Regions from separate parts of the Homo sapiens genome. Here region 1 is linked to region 2. The links are contacts of gene promoters, found by promoter capture Hi-C in blood cells and fetal thymus (Javierre and others, 2016). All regions are on one chromosome and are shown on one strand. The core of a region is centred on a gene start or on the middle of the fragment in contact, and the rest is flanking DNA. Distances in the headings are between cores, read along the strand shown. Region 1 overlaps INSR (insulin receptor). Region 2 holds the start of ARHGEF18-AS1 (ARHGEF18 antisense RNA 1).

Region 1 (7,248 bases), core at 2,652-5,151, 230 kb after region 2:
GCAACCTCCTTCCCCTGGGTTCAGGTAATTATCTCGCCTCAGCCTCCAGAATAGCTGGGATTACAGGCACATGCCACCAAGCCCGGCTAATTTTTTTTTTTGTATTTTTAGTAGAGACAGGGTTTTGCCATGTTGGCCAGGGTGGTCTTGAACTCCTGACCTCAGGTGATCCTCCCGCCTCGGCCTCCCAAAGTGCTGAGATTACAGGTGTGAGTCACCACGCTCAGCCATGAAGAGCCTTTTGACAATAGCGTGTGTCTGACCTCTGTGAACAGAGAGCGGGAAGGAGGGAGGATAGGGCTGGGAGAGTCTCAGATGGTGATGCATCCCTGAGTCTTGGCCAAACCCAGAAAGAGATCAAGGCCACGGTTGTCTGCAGGGAAGTTCTGCATTGCAAAGGGACGGCCAGGCATCTACCAAGCTCAGTCATAGGTGGGGGCTGTCCAGGGAGAGTCAGGTTTTGGCTGGAATGCTACAGCAGGTCCTGCAGTTTCTGCAGCTGCAGGCTGCCTGCTGACTGCACTTCCCTGACAGATTCTAAACAGTGAGCTGCCAAGGGCTTCTGGGATACCTTCATGGGGAGTTAGTTACTTATGTCAAAATGTAGTGCAAGGGCTGGGCATGGTGGCTCACGCCTGGAATCCCAGCACTCTGGGAGGCCGAGGCAGGCAGATCACTTGAGGTCAGGAGTTCGAGACCAGCCTGGCCAATGTGGTGAAACTCCATCTCTACTAAAAAAAAAAAATACAAAAACTAGCTGGACGTGGTGGTGGGTGCCTGTAATCCCAGCTACTTGAGAGGCTGAGGCATGAGAATTGCTTAAACCCGGTAGGTGGACTGCACTCCAGCCTTGGTGACAGAGCAAGACTGTCTCAAAAAAAATGTAGTGCAAGGAGAGAGAGCGAGGTTGGGGTGAGGTTTAGGAGAGGGTTTGTCTTCTAGGCAGAGAGAATTACTTAGATGCGTCTCTCCGATGTCTAATGATCTGCAGGGTCTCTAAACTCACTTGGCATAGGTTTATTTGCACTGGAGTTGCACCTCCTTCCAGGTCAGTCTTACAAGTCCATATGCGAGACAACGTTGTGTCAGGACAAACATCACCCTTGGAAATCCCTTCCTCCAATAACTATTGGCCGGTTGTCCTTCTTGCGCGGGTACAGACTGCGCTTATTCAGTTGACTGTCTGGCTGAGTCAAGTCATTGGCTTACGTGAGTGTGAGTGGCCAAGTTGCAAAACTGGCTCTTACCTTTGAATCTTCCCCCATTCATACTCAGCCAGGCACATGGGGAGGAGACCCTTAAGGGAATAGCAGCGTCACCTCTGCCTTCTCACGGTCCCTCCAGGAAGTGTGGGGGTCCCAGGCTTTGGTCTGAAACTACACTGAAATAGCTCATTTTTGCCTTTTGTTTTAACTTTTCCAGGTGAAAATGAGTTACTTAAATTTTCTTACATTCGGACATCTTTTGACAAGATCTTGCTGAGATGGGAGCCGTACTGGCCCCCCGACTTCCGAGACCTCTTGGGGTTCATGCTGTTCTACAAAGAGGCGTAAGTAGAAGAGTTAGAGAGACGCTGAGGAGGCGAGGGCTGGCTGGCTCTGTGCTTGCTACGTTTGTGCTCCAATCTGCCCCTCTTGGGTTCCTGTCTATCTCCCTCCTCCTCCTGGAATAAATATCTTAGGTTCCTTTTTACAATCTCACCAGTCGATGGCATGCAAAGTCAATAGTGTCTGCTTTTATCAAATGCCTAAAATGGAAGCAGACAGCTTTCCCATAGAAGCCCGGACTGGCCAGTTTCCTGGGGCAATATTCTATTTTGCCTTGCCTGTGTATGTCTCATCAGACATCCTTAGTAGTCAGGAGCTCAGTCTACTAAGTGGATGTTATCAAATGTATTGCTTATCTATTTTTCTTTTTTATCCCCAATTTTTTTTTTTTTTTTGAGACAGAGTCTTGCTCTGTTGCCCAGGGTACAGTGCAGTGGCAGATCTTGGCTCACTGCAACCTCTGCCTCCCGGGTTCAAGCAGTTCTCCTGCCTCAGTCTCTTGAGTAGCTGAGATTATGGGCATACACCATCACACGTAGCTAATTTGTGTATTTTTGATAGAGACGGGTTTTGCCATGTTGGCCAGGCTGGTCTCAAACTCCTGACCTCAGGTGATCTGCCCACCTTGGCCTCCCAAAGTGCTGGGATTACAGGCATGAGCCACCGCACCTGACCAGTAGTAATATTAATAATAGTTCTAGCCCTCAAGATTTACCTTGTGCCTTGCTGAGCACTGACACACAGTCTAATCTTATCAGTAACTTGTGAGGGAGCTCCTGCTATTACTATTATTACAGATTGAGTATCCCTAATCTGAAAATCTGAAATTTATAATGCTCCAAAATCCAAAGCTTTTTGTGGGCCGACTTGATACTCAAAGGAGATGCTTATTGGAGCATTTCAGATTTCAGATTTTTAGATTAGAGATGCTGAACCAGTACAATGCAAATTAACTAGTAAAATGCAAATATTTCAAAACCCCAAAATATCCAAAATCCAAAACACTTCTGGTCCCAAGCATTTATTTATTTATTTATTTATTTATGTTTTTGAAACAGAGTCTCCCTTTGTCGCCCAGGCTGGAGTGCAGTGGTGCGATCTCAGCTGATGCTACCTCTGCCTCCCGGGTTCAAGCAATTCTCCTGCCTCAACCTCCTGAATAGCTGGGATTACAAGCATCTGCCACCATGCCCAGATAATTTTTGTATTTTTAGTAGAGACGGGGTTTCACCATGTTGGCCAGGCTGGTCTCGAACTCCTGACTTCTGGTGATCCGCCATTCTCGGCCTCCCAAAGTGCTGGGATTACAGGCGTGAGCCACTGCACTTGGCCAAGTCTCAAGTGTTTTGAATAAGGGATGCCCAAGCTGTGTTTTTTCATTGAGATGTCAGGGTTGACAGTTCCTTTCTCTTTGGCTGTTCCCGAGTTATTTTTTCTTGTGGCATTAGATTGTTGGGTGAGTAACATGTGACCCTATGGGATGTAACTTCCCAGGCCTCATCTGCACGGCACTCAGTGTGACGGTCTTGTAAGGGTAACTGCCTTCTGCTGTTTTGTCTTGAAAGCCCTTATCAGAATGTGACGGAGTTCGACGGGCAGGATGCGTGTGGTTCCAACAGTTGGACGGTGGTAGACATTGACCCACCCCTGAGGTCCAACGACCCCAAATCACAGAACCACCCAGGGTGGCTGATGCGGGGTCTCAAGCCCTGGACCCAGTATGCCATCTTTGTGAAGACCCTGGTCACCTTTTCGGATGAACGCCGGACCTATGGGGCCAAGAGTGACATCATTTATGTCCAGACAGATGCCACCAGTGAGTGTGTCTTGGGAATGTGAATTCGTATGTGAATCAGACCTCTTGCTTTTAATAGGCTGATGCAGTGAGGTTGTATAAAATGCTCCTTGATATGGTTATTGGCTTTTTTTTTTTTTTTAGACAGGGTCTTACTTTGTCACCCAGGCTAGAGTGCAATGCAGTGGGGTGATCATGGCTCACTGCAGCCTCAAACTCCTGGGCTCAAGCAATCCTTCTGCCTCAGCCTCCTAAGTAGAAGGAACTACCAGAGTATACCACCATGTGTGGCTTTTTTTTTTTTTTTTCTTTGAGATGAAGTCTCACTCTGTCACCCGGACTGGAGTGCAATGGCATGATCTCGGCTCACTGCAACCTCCGCCTCCCAGGTTCAAGTAATTCTCCCACCTCAGCCTCCTGAGTAGCTGGGACTACAGGCATGCACCACTATACCCAGCTAATTTTTGTATTTCTTGTAGAGACAGAACGTTGCTGTGTTACCCAGGCTGGTCTTGAACCCCTGGCCTCAAGTGATCCTCCTGCCTCGGCCTCCCAAAGTCCTGGGATTAGAAGTGTGAGCCACCTTGCCCAGTCAGTTATTGGCTTTTAAAGGAGCTGGGTATTGAGGCTTATAGTTTCAGACGAGGCAGTAGCAACAAGCCACTTGATGGGAATATTTATATTTTTCATCCTATTATGAAAAATTGTCAAATATTCACAACACAGAACAAAACCCCATAGTTAGCCGCCTCCCAGCTTCAGCCTTTGGTCATTTTTGTTTCATCTCGACGCCTGTTCCCTCTTCCCACTTGTTACTTCTTTTTGTTTTGTTGTTTGTTTTGGCCTGGAGTATTTCACAGCAATTTAATTATGTTTGTTTGTTTGAGATGGAGTCTCACTCTGTCACCCAGGCTGGAGTGCAGTGGCGCCATCTGGACTCACTGCAACCTCCACCTCCCAGGTTCAAGTGATTCTCCTGCCTCAGCCTCCCAAGTTGCTGGGATTACAGCACACTTGGCTAATTTTTGTTTTGTTTTGTTTTGTTTTTTGAGACAGAGTCTCACTCTGTCACTGAGGCTGGAGTGCAGTGGTGTGATCTCAGCTCACTGTAACCTCCCCGTCCCAGTTCAAGTGATTCTCCTGCCTCAGTCTCCCAAGTAGCTGCAACTACAGGCGTGCCACCACGCCCAGCTAATTTTTGTATTTTTAGTAGAGATGGGATTTCACCATGTTGGCCAGGATGGTCTCAATCTCTTGACCTGCAATCTGCCCACCTTGGCCTCCCAAAGTGCTGGGATTACAGGCATAAGCCACCATGCCAGCCTTTTTTTTTTTTTTTTTTTTTTTTGAGATGGAGTTTCGCTCTTGTTGCCTAGGCTGGAGTGCAATGGCCCTATCTCAGCTCACTGCAACCTCTGCCTCCCGGGTTCAAGCGATTCTCCTGCCTCAGCCTCCCGAGTAACTGGGATTACATGCATGCACCACCACGATTGGCGAATTTTTTTTTTTTTTTTTTTTTTGTAGAGACAAGGTTTCTCCATGTTGGTCAGGCTGGTCTCGAACTCCGAGCCTCAGGTGATCCGCCTGCCTCGGCTTCCCAAAGTGCTGGGATTACAGGCATGAGCCACCGCGCCCAGCCATTTTTGTATTTTTAATAGAGATGGGGCTTCACCATGTTGGCCAGGCTGCTCTGGAACTCCTGACCTCAAATGATCCGCCCACCTTGGCCTCCCAAAGTGCTGGGATTACAGGCATGAGCCACTGGGCCCGGCCTAATTATATTTTTGTAAAACCTAAGTGCTTCTCTTATAGCAGTAGTTCCCAAAGGAGGTTAACTGCTCTGCCAGGGAACAGCTGCCAATCAATGTCTGGAGACATTTTTGGTTGTTACAGCTGTGGAGATGAAACCACTGGCATTTCGTGGGCGGAAGCCAGAGAGGCTGTTCCATGTCCTGCAACACACAGGATGCACCCTCCTTCATGACAAAGAATTATCCAGTCCTAAAAGCCAATAGTACTAAGGGTGAGAAACCCCGTCCTGTAGGCTCAAATTCAAGCTTTTTTTTTTTTTTTTTTTTTTTTAACGGAGTTTCACTCTTGTCTCTCAGGCTGGAGTTCAATGGCGCATTCTCAGCTCACTGCAACCTCTGCCCAGGTTCAAGATTCTCCTGCCTCAGCCTCCCAGGAAGCTGAGATTACAGGCGCCCACCACCATGTCCAGCTAATTTTTTTTTTTTTTTTTTTTTTTTAGTAGAGATAGGGTTTCACCATGTTGGCCAGGTGTAGTCTCGAACTCCTGATCTCAGGTGATTCAGATGATTCGCCCACCTCGGCCTTCTAAAGTGCTGGGATTACAGGCATGAGCCACTGTGCCTGGCCTCGAATTCAAACTTTATAAATCAACCCTATCTTCTTCAGTTAATCCCCGCTCATTCATCCTGTATCTTTTAGTGACACCAAAAGACTTACAGTTTTCAGAAACTTCTAGCTCCCAGGTGTTTGGACTCCCTCCCCATCCCCAGCTCCCTCGGCCACCTCCGTTACTTTGGGTTTTTTGGGTTTTGTTTGGTTGGTTGGTGGTGGTTTTTTTTTTCTTTTTTGTTTTGTTTTGTTTTGAGACGGACTCTTGCTCTGTCACCCAGGCTGGAGTGCAGTGGCGCAATCTCGGCTCACTGCAAGCTCCGCCTCCCAGGTTCACGCCATTCTCCTGCCTCAGCCTCCCAAGTAGCTGGGACTACAGGCGCCCACCACCACACCTGGCTAATTTTTTGTATTTTTAGTAGAGACGGGGTTTCACTGTGTTAACCAGGATGGTCTCGATCTCCTGACCTCGTGATCCGCCTGCCTTGGCCGCCCAAAATGCTGGGATGGGTGCCCTCATGATGTCTTTAACTTGTGTGTCCCCCGCCATCCTCCCACCAGCTTTCTTTGCACACTGTTTCTCATGATGGACCCATTTCCTTTCTCCCTGACAGACCCCTCTGTGCCCCTGGATCCAATCTCAGTGTCTAACTCATCATCCCAGATTATTCTGAAGTGGAAACCACCCTCCGACCCCAATGGCAACATCACCCACTACCTGGTTTTCTGGGAGAGGCAGGCGGAAGACAGTGAGCTGTTCGAGCTGGATTATTGCCTCAAAGGTGAGTGCAGGCAGCTGTGCTAGGATCGGTGGGGTTTGCACACGTGTGTCTGATGCACTTTGCTTCACCTCTAGGGAAGCAGCTATCTCTTCCTGTGTCTCAGTGTCGGAAGGCACACACACACACACTCCATTCTATCTCATATGAAAACACACATACATGTTTTTATCTATTTATTTATTTATTTTATTTTTTATTTATTTACTTTTTTGAGATGGAGTTTCACTCTTGTTGCCCAGGCTGGAGTGCAATGACGCGACCTTGGCTCATCGCAACCTCCACCTCTCGGGTTCAAGTGATTCTCCTGCATCAGCCTCCCGAGTAGCTGGGATTACAGGCACGCGCCACCACGCCCGGCTAATTTGGTATTTTTAGTAGGGACGGGGTTTCTCCATGTTGGTCAGCCTGGTCTCAAACTCCCGACCTCAGGTGACCTCAGGTGATCCACCCACCTTGGCCTCCCAAAGTGCTGGGATTACAGGCATGAGCCACCACACCCGGCCTATTTTTTTTTTTTTTTTGAGACAGGGTCTTACTCTGTTGCCCAGGCTGGAGTGCAGTGGCATGATCTCTGCTCACTGCAACCTCCACCTCCCAGGCTCAAGCAATCCTCTTGCCTCAGCCTCATGAGTTGCTGGAACACCACAATTGTCTGCAGGTGTGCACCAGCATGCCCAGGTAATTTTTTTTTTTTTTTTTTTTTTTGAGACAGGGTCTCACTCTGTCACCCAGGCTGGAGTGCAGTGGCATGATCTCGGCTCAT
Region 2 (7,748 bases), core at 1,387-3,886:
GTGGCACGATCTCGGCTCACTGCAACCTCTACCTCCCGGGTTCACGCCATTCTCCTGCCTCAGCCTCCTGACTAGCTGGGACTACAGGCACACGCCATCATGCCCAGCTAATTTTTTGTATTTTTAGTAGAGACGGGGTTTCACCGTGTTAGCCAGGATGGTCTCAATCTCCTGACCTCGTGATCTGCCCCCCCCCGGGCCTCCCAAAGTGCTGGGATTACAGGTGTGAGCCACCGCACCCGGCCCAAAAAATTTTTAAAAATTAGCCAGACATGGAAGCGCGTGTCTGTAGTCCCAGCTACTTGGGAGTTTGTGGCAGGAGGATTATTTGAGCCCAGGAGTTCGAGGCTGTAGTGAGCTATGATTGTGCTATTGCACTCCAGTCTGGGCAACAGAGTGAGACCCTGTCTCTAAAAAGAAAAAAAAAATTTTAAGTAAAATCACATACTAATTTCAGAAGAAAACAAAAACTAAATAAGCTATACAAAACCAAAACAAAGTAACGTTTACAAAAATGAAATGTATTATGCCTGCCAGCTGTTTGCTCTTTTTTGCTCTAGAACAAACACATCTTCATTTTTTTTTTTTTTTTTTTTTCGCAAAAAGGCTTGCTGACCTACAGAAATAGGAAACTACTGATAAAGCGTAAACCCTGACTCGGTCCAAACAACATCCGAGATGCTCAAATTTTCCAAACTCTTTATAATTTGGAATGTTAACCTAAACATCCAAGCCTGGGAGCATTCGCATATGCAAAGGGTGTATAACACTGATGGAAAGTTTGCCATATGCCAGACACTTCTGTGATGCACCTTACACAGATTACTTCATAGAAACCCCAACCAACCCTTATTCCCATTTTAAAGATGGGAAGACGGAAACTTAGTGAAGTTACACGGCTAACAGGTGGTGGAACTGGGACCAGAACCCAGCTCGGATCTGACCTCAAGCCTGTGCTCCTGACACTTCTTTTTTTTTTTTTTTAGACAGTCTTGCTCTGTCGCCAGGCTGGAGTGCAGTGGCCCGATCGCGGCTCACTGCAACTTCTGCCTCCCGAGTTCAAGTGATTCCCCTGCCTCAGCCTCCAGAGTAGCTGGAACTACAGGCGCCCGCTACCATGCCCGGCTAATTTTTGTATTTTAGTAGAGATGGGGTTTCACCATGTTGGCCAGGATGGTCTCGATCTCCTGACCTCGTGATCCACCCACCTTGGCCTCCCAAAGTGCTGGGATTACAGGCTTGAGCCACCGCGCCCAGCCTCTCCTGACACCTCTTACAGCTGGAGGATTAATCATTCACTCAGACACCTGCAAAACTCATCCCTTGGCCACTGGGCTGTCTATACTGTCCTGAACTCTCTCTCTGGTCAATGGGAAGAGAATGGGGCCCTTCAAAGCTACTGGCTGGAGCTTCATCTCCGCGAAAACAAGGCAAAGGGGAAAAGGTGTGTTGGCCGCTTCGCTTCCGTGGTAAAACTTTAAGAATGTTTTTTAATCCTGTGGTCCAGGCTTTAATCTCAACAGAGCAAGAGATAAGGGGCAGATAGCCACAGCAAAACACTCAAGTGCTAGTAGAATTAACGCAGGAAAAGAAAACCAAATACTGCACTTTCCCACTTGTAAGTGGAGCTAAACCTTGGGTACTCATGGACACCAAGAAGACAACAGAAACTGGGCTCTACTAGAGCGGGAAGGGAAGGAGGAGGTCAAGGGTTGAAACTATCTATTGAGTACTATGCTCAGTACCTGGGTGACGAGATCAGTCACACCCCAAACCTCAGCATCACGCAATATATCCAGGTAACAAACCTGTACATGTACCCCCTCAATCTCAAATAAAAGTTGAAATTTAAAAACGTAAAACAAAACGAAACATGTAAGGACCAGGGGAAAGCTTCTCGTTCCCGTCCGCAATGAAAGCACCAACTGAGTTCTTATACAAGAAACTAAAACCCATGGCACAGATAGTTCTCACGGTTTTGCACCCAAACGCTCCCTGCCAGGGAGGGCTGTCTGCTCCGGGGTGTGAGGGTTCTCCCGGGAGGCCTGAAATACGACGGTGCTGGGTATTGTGGTGGGTTCCATTCCATCCCTGGTCCTGCCCCGGGCGCTCCTGAACGAGGAGCAGAGGCTGGGGCCCAAGTGACCCCTCCTCTCCTCTCCTGGAGGAGAGTAAGCCGTAGCACCCCAGGACTGGCTGGGGCTCGGACGGAGCGGGCGGGCATCGTCTGCACCTCTGCACCCTGCAATCGCCGCCTAGAGCCTCCATGCATTGAAGGAGCAGCCTGCACCCCAGCACCCGTTCGCCTGCCTGGAGAAGTCCCCCAGGAGCCGGCGGGAGGCCCGAGGCAGCCCCGGGGGTCCCGCGCCCCAGGCCACCCCCTGAAGAGACCGAGGGCCCCCTCCTGAGCCCCGTTTTCCTCGGGACCGCCCCGCCGCCGTCCTCACCTCGGCCCGATCGCCCGCAGGCCGCTCTCCGCCAGCTCCTCTGCCACTCTCGCAGCCGCCTCCGATGCCTCCGTCCGGCCCCCCCAGATCCACAGTAGCTAGCAGCTGGGAGCCGGAAGCGGGAAGCCGCGCGAGGAGAGCAGCGCATGCGCGATCCCGCCTCGGAGGCGGGGCAGAGGGCGTGACCCGGAAGGAGGCGTGCCCTCGAGGGCGGGGCGCTCCCGGGGACCTGGGGCTGCTGCTCCCCGAGCCGTGGTGAGGGGGCGTCGGCTCGGCCTTGAGAGGGGCGCGGGCACCGAAGTGGGAGGGTGCTCGCGGCGAGGGTGAGGGCGACTTTTGAGGGGCGGGTCAGCGGGGTTGGGGGGCTTTTTGAAGGAGAGCAATGCGAGCCTGGCTGTCAGTAGGGCCGGGGGCTCTGAGGGGACAGCTGGGTTGCGGGGATCCAGAGGGAGAGCAGCAGGGTTAGGTGGGCGTTTTGTGGGGTTAACGGAAGCCTGGGTGATTAGCGCGGCTGGGGAGGGAGTCCTGAGGAGGACAGCGGTTTGGAGAATCTCAAGGGGGGTACAGCACAGTTAGGGGGACCCTGAGGGAGGACAGCGGGGTTGGGGGACCCCAAGGGAGGACAGCGGGGTTGGGGGGACCCCGAGGGAGGACAGCGGAGTTGGGGGACCCCGAGGGAGGATAGCGGGGTTAAGGGGACCCCAAGGGAGGACAGTGGAGCTGGGGGTGTTTTGGAAGAATCAACGGATGCCTGGAGGGGTTGTCAGTGGGCTCCTACGGGCTCGTTAGGATTGGAAGTACCTAAGGGGGGCACTCCCAGTGGTGGGGAGTCCTAGCGGGGAGAGTCCAAGAAATGGAGAGGGCAGGGTCTGTCACCTGAGAAAAAAGAAGCAGCATCAGGGAGTGGTGGGGGGATCACTTCATCCCAGGAGTTCAGGACCACCAGTCTGGGCAACATAGCAAGACCCCATCTCTACAAAACATTTTTTAAAATGAGCAGGGCATGGAGGCGCCTGCCTGTGGTCCCAACTCCTCCAGAGGCTGAGGTGGGAGGATGACTTGAGCCTGGGAGGTCCAGGCTGCGGTGAGCTATGATCATGCCTCCAGAGGCTGAGGTGGGAGGATGACTTGAGCCTGGGAGGTCCAGGCTGCAGTGAGCTATAATCATGCCACTGCACTCCAGCCTGGACAACAGAGCAAGACTCTGTCTCAAAATAACAACAACAAAAAAAGAGGCAGCATAGACTTCAGAAAGGTGGGTCTGGGAAAAATGAATCATATACCTCTCCAGTGGTCTCAGACACCCCAACATAGATACCATCAGATCCCCTAAACACAGGCACCCAGGCAGGTGCCATCAGATACCCAAAACAGGCTTCCAGGTAACCCCCAAATATGTCAGACACTCCACATAGGTCCAGCAGATACCCCCAAACACATACTAGATAACCCCAATACAGATGCTGTCAGATACCCTCAAACAGGTGCTCAGAGTCTGAAACACATACCATACCCTCCCCTATCCACTTCCACACAGGTGCTATTTGGCAGATGTGGATAGGCCAGATGCTTCCCCCAGCACCAGCAACCTCTCAATTGCCATCAGACACCCCAGTCTTGAGGTTGCCTGTCTAATCCAAGTCCTGCCACAGGGGAGGCAGTTGAACAGTAACCAGGAGTCGAGCAGAACAGCTCTCACCAAGGTTGGCTGGTCAGCCAGGCCTAGAAGATCTCCCCATGGCCAGGCAAGACGGCTCATGCCTGTAATCCTAACACTTTGGGAGTCTGAGGAGGGAGGATCACTTGAGTCCAGGAGCTTTGAGATCAGCCTGGGAAACCTCGCATGACCCAGTCTCTATTTTAGAAAAAAAGATTTCCCCAAACCCAATCACTTCAAAACATGCACAATATGTTGTTGAGAGTCCCCAGTTCAGAAGCTGGAGGGTTGCGTCCCCAGGTGGACTAGCCTTCAGTTCAAGTCCAACCTTCATGGTCCAGAGGAAGGGAGCATGTTCAGGGAATTGGATGTCCCAGAAATGCAAGACGTAATTCACCAGGCACCCTACTGCAGCTGAGGTCAGAAACTCTAACACGGGAGTTTATGAGGGCTCAATGGTTGGGCAGCTGTGTAGCTGTGGCTTATGGACTTAGGGGCATGAACCTTATTTTTTTTCCTTTTTTTTTTTTTTTTTTTTTTTTTGAGACAGGATCTCACTCTGTCACTTAGGCTGGAAGTGCAGTGGCACAATCATAGCTCATTGCAGCTTCCATCTCCTGGGCTCAAGTTGTCCTCCCACCTCAGCCTCCCAAGTAGCTGGGACCACAGGCACACACCACCACGTCTGGCTAATTTTTTTGTAGAGACAGAGTTTCGCCATGTTGCCTAGATTGGTCTCGAACTCCTGAGCTCAAGTGATCTGCCCGCCTGGGCCTCCTATGATGCCAGGATTGTAGGTGTGAGCCATCATGCCCGGCCTTTGAACCTTATTTCTTTCTTTCTCTTTTTCTTTCTTTTTTTTTTTTTTTCTTTCTTGAGACAGAGTCTCACTCTGTCACCCAGGCTGCAGTGTAGTGGTACCATCTAGGCTCACTGCAGCCTCCACCTCCTGGGTTCAAGTGATCCTCCTGCCTCAGCCTCCCGAGTGCTGGAATTACAGGTATGCACCACCAAGCCTGGCTAATTTTTGTGTTTTTTTTTTGTTTTTTTTTCAGTAGAGTCAGGGTTTCACCATGTTGGCCAGACTGGTCTTGAACTCCTGACCTCAAGTGATCCTCCCACCCTGGCCTCCCAAAGTGCTGGGATTACAGGCGTGAGCCACTGGGTCTGGCCATCAGCCTTATTTCTATAGCTATCTTGGTTATAGGAAACTTCAGGTGGACACAGCCCTCCCCTAAACATAGAAACCAACTTTCTCAGAGACAACTAGGAAGGAGAAACATCTCCCATCTTTCTTTTATCCATCCAACCATTCTGCATTTATGAGTCTTTTTTTTTTTTTTTTTTTTTGAGACGGAGTCTCACTCTGTTGCCCAAGCTGGAGTGCAGTGGTGCCATCTTGGCTCACTGCAAACTCCACCTCCCAGATTGAAGCAATTCTCCTGCCTCAGCCTCCCGAGTAGCTGGGATTGCAGGCACCCGCCACTACATCTGGCTAATTTTTGTATTTTTTGTAGAGATGGGGTTTTACCATGTTGGCCAGGCTGGTCTTGAACTCCTGACCTTAGGTGATCTGCCTGCCTCAGCCTCCCAAAGTGCTGGGATTACAGGCGTGAGCCACCACACCTGGCCTCATTTATGAGTCTTTAGCATGGACCAGGGGCGCTAGGAGCTAAGGAGATGCAAGGAGCTTAGGCCCAGAGCAGGGTTTTCTCAGCTTGGCACTTTCGACAATTAGGGCTGGATAATTCTCGGTGGTGGTGGCAGGGGTGGTCTCCTATGCACTGGAGGGTGTTGAGCGGCATCCCTGGTCTCTACCTCCTAGATGCCAGTGGCTCCCCTGGTCCTGAAAAAAATGCCTCCAGATGTTTCCTTGGCTGAGAGCAACTGGCCTAAGAGACATTCAGACACTTATCCAGCCTAATTCCGACTTCCTGGAGGAAGTGGGCCTGGGCTTTGTCTTAAAAGGATGAGTAAGAGTTAGGTGGGAGAGGGAGTTCCAGGAACAGCGCTGGATGAGCAAGGCACAGCGTATGTGTATGACGTGTATGAACAGCCATGAGACTTCAGGGTGACTGGGCCGTGGAGTCCGGAGAACCTGAGTAGTGGGAGAGAAGCGTGGAGGGATAGGTGGGGTTGAATTATAAACAGCCTCAAAGGTCAAGGCCAGGAACAGGACTGTCTGGCGTGGTGTCTGTTCTCTGAAAAGCATCCCAACTTTATCGTGGAGACCCACCTTCTCTAATTACCTGGAGTATGACTCATTCTCTGTTCTGTTTGTTTAACTTACTGTGAGGCTGTTTCCTCCGTCTGTCCCACGGACGGGAGGAAACGGGACAGACTGTCACGTTGACTTTGAATACCTTTAAAAGCAGGTAGGCCTGTGGGGAGTTATACCTTGGGAGGACTTTTCTCAGCCTGCTGGGAATGAGACATGGGTGTTTTGGCCCCTTCATGCCTCCTGACACAGGTGGGGAGGGGTTTGTTGTCAGAGAACAGGGTTAGGGTCTGTGATTTATTTTTTTATTTTTATTTTATTTATTTATTTTTTTGAGACAGAGTCTCACTCTGTCAACGGGCTGGAGTGCAGTGGTGTGATCTCAGCTCACTGCAACCTCTGCTTCCCGGGTTCAAGTGATTCTCCTGCCTCAGTCTCCCAAGTAGCTGGGACTACAGGCAGGCGCCACCACACCCAGCTAATTTTTGTATTTTTAGTAGAGACGGTGTTTCACCATGTTGGCCAGGATGGTCTCCCTCTCTTGACCTCGTGATCTTCCCTCCTCGGCCTCCCAAAGTGCTAGGATTACAGGCGTAAGCCACCACACCTGGCTTGGTCTGTGATTTATTATTATTTTTATTTGTTTTTGCAGCTTTGCAGAGGCAAGCGTCTATGATTTAAATGCTAGCTTTGCCGCTTACTGGCTGAAAGACTTTAAATGACAATAACAAAAAATGAAGAGGATGATGATGATGATACAAGATACCATTGCCCGTGTGTACCAGACATCATGCTAAGTGAGTGCTACCCACATCATTTTTCTTTCTTTTCTTTTCTTTTCTTTTTTCTTTTTTTTTTTTTTTTGATACAGAGTCTCGCTCTGTCACCCAGGCTGAAGTGCAGTGGCGCAATCTTGCCTCACTGCAACCTCCACCTCTTGGGTTCAAGGGATCCTCCCACCTGAGCCTCCTGAGTAACTGCGATTACAGGCATGTGCCACCATGCCCCGCTAATTGTTTTGTGTTTTTAATGGAGATGGGGTCTTACCATGTTGGCCAGGCTGGTCTCAAACTCCTGACCTCAAGTGATCCTCCCACCTTGGTCTCCCAAAGTGCTGGGATTACAGGTGTAAGCCACCACGCCCAGCCTTTACCCACATTATTTCTTTTTTCTTTTTAGGAACAGGGTCTTGCTCTGTGGCACAGGCTAGAGGGCAGTGGCAAATCATAGCTAACTGTAGCTTTGAACACCTGGGCTCAAGCAATGCTGCCACCTCAGCCTCCCGAGTAGCTAGGATTATAGGCGAGTGCCACCACACCTGGCTAACTTTTAAACATTTTTTTTGTAGAGACGAGGGTCTCACTATATTGCCCAGACTCCTGAACTCAAGGGATCCTCCTGCCTCAGCCTCCCAAAGCGCTGAGAT

Evidence for each region. The method cuts DNA at HindIII sites, captures the fragments that hold promoters and counts their contacts. A CHiCAGO score of 5 or more calls a contact.
Region 1: a fragment that was not itself captured here is called in contact with the fragment with the promoter of ARHGEF18-AS1 in region 2 in 1 of 17 cell types (naive B cells); the score reaches 5.0 in naive B cells.

Annotation. Positions count from the first base shown.
Region 1 is chr19:7,162,269-7,169,516 of GRCh38, reverse strand. It overlaps INSR (insulin receptor), which reads left to right. Exons shown (of 22, transcript NM_000208.4): 7 at 1,423-1,549; 8 at 3,113-3,363; 9 at 6,318-6,485. Among named protein-coding and RNA genes, the nearest start is that of ZNF557, 96 kb to the right of the region's middle. The HindIII fragment of the contact is 3,001 bases long and covers 2,401-5,401 here.
Region 2 is chr19:7,389,947-7,397,694 of GRCh38, reverse strand. It overlaps ARHGEF18-AS1 (ARHGEF18 antisense RNA 1), which reads left to right and starts at 2,636. Exons shown (of 2, transcript NR_186326.1): 1 at 2,636-2,702; 2 at 6,975-7,748. The region is part of intron 10 of ARHGEF18 (Rho/Rac guanine nucleotide exchange factor 18); the gene reads right to left. RefSeq lists an enhancer at 1,769-1,948 and silencers at 2,159-2,728, 2,437-2,877. The HindIII fragment of the contact is 12,223 bases long and covers 1,896-7,748 here.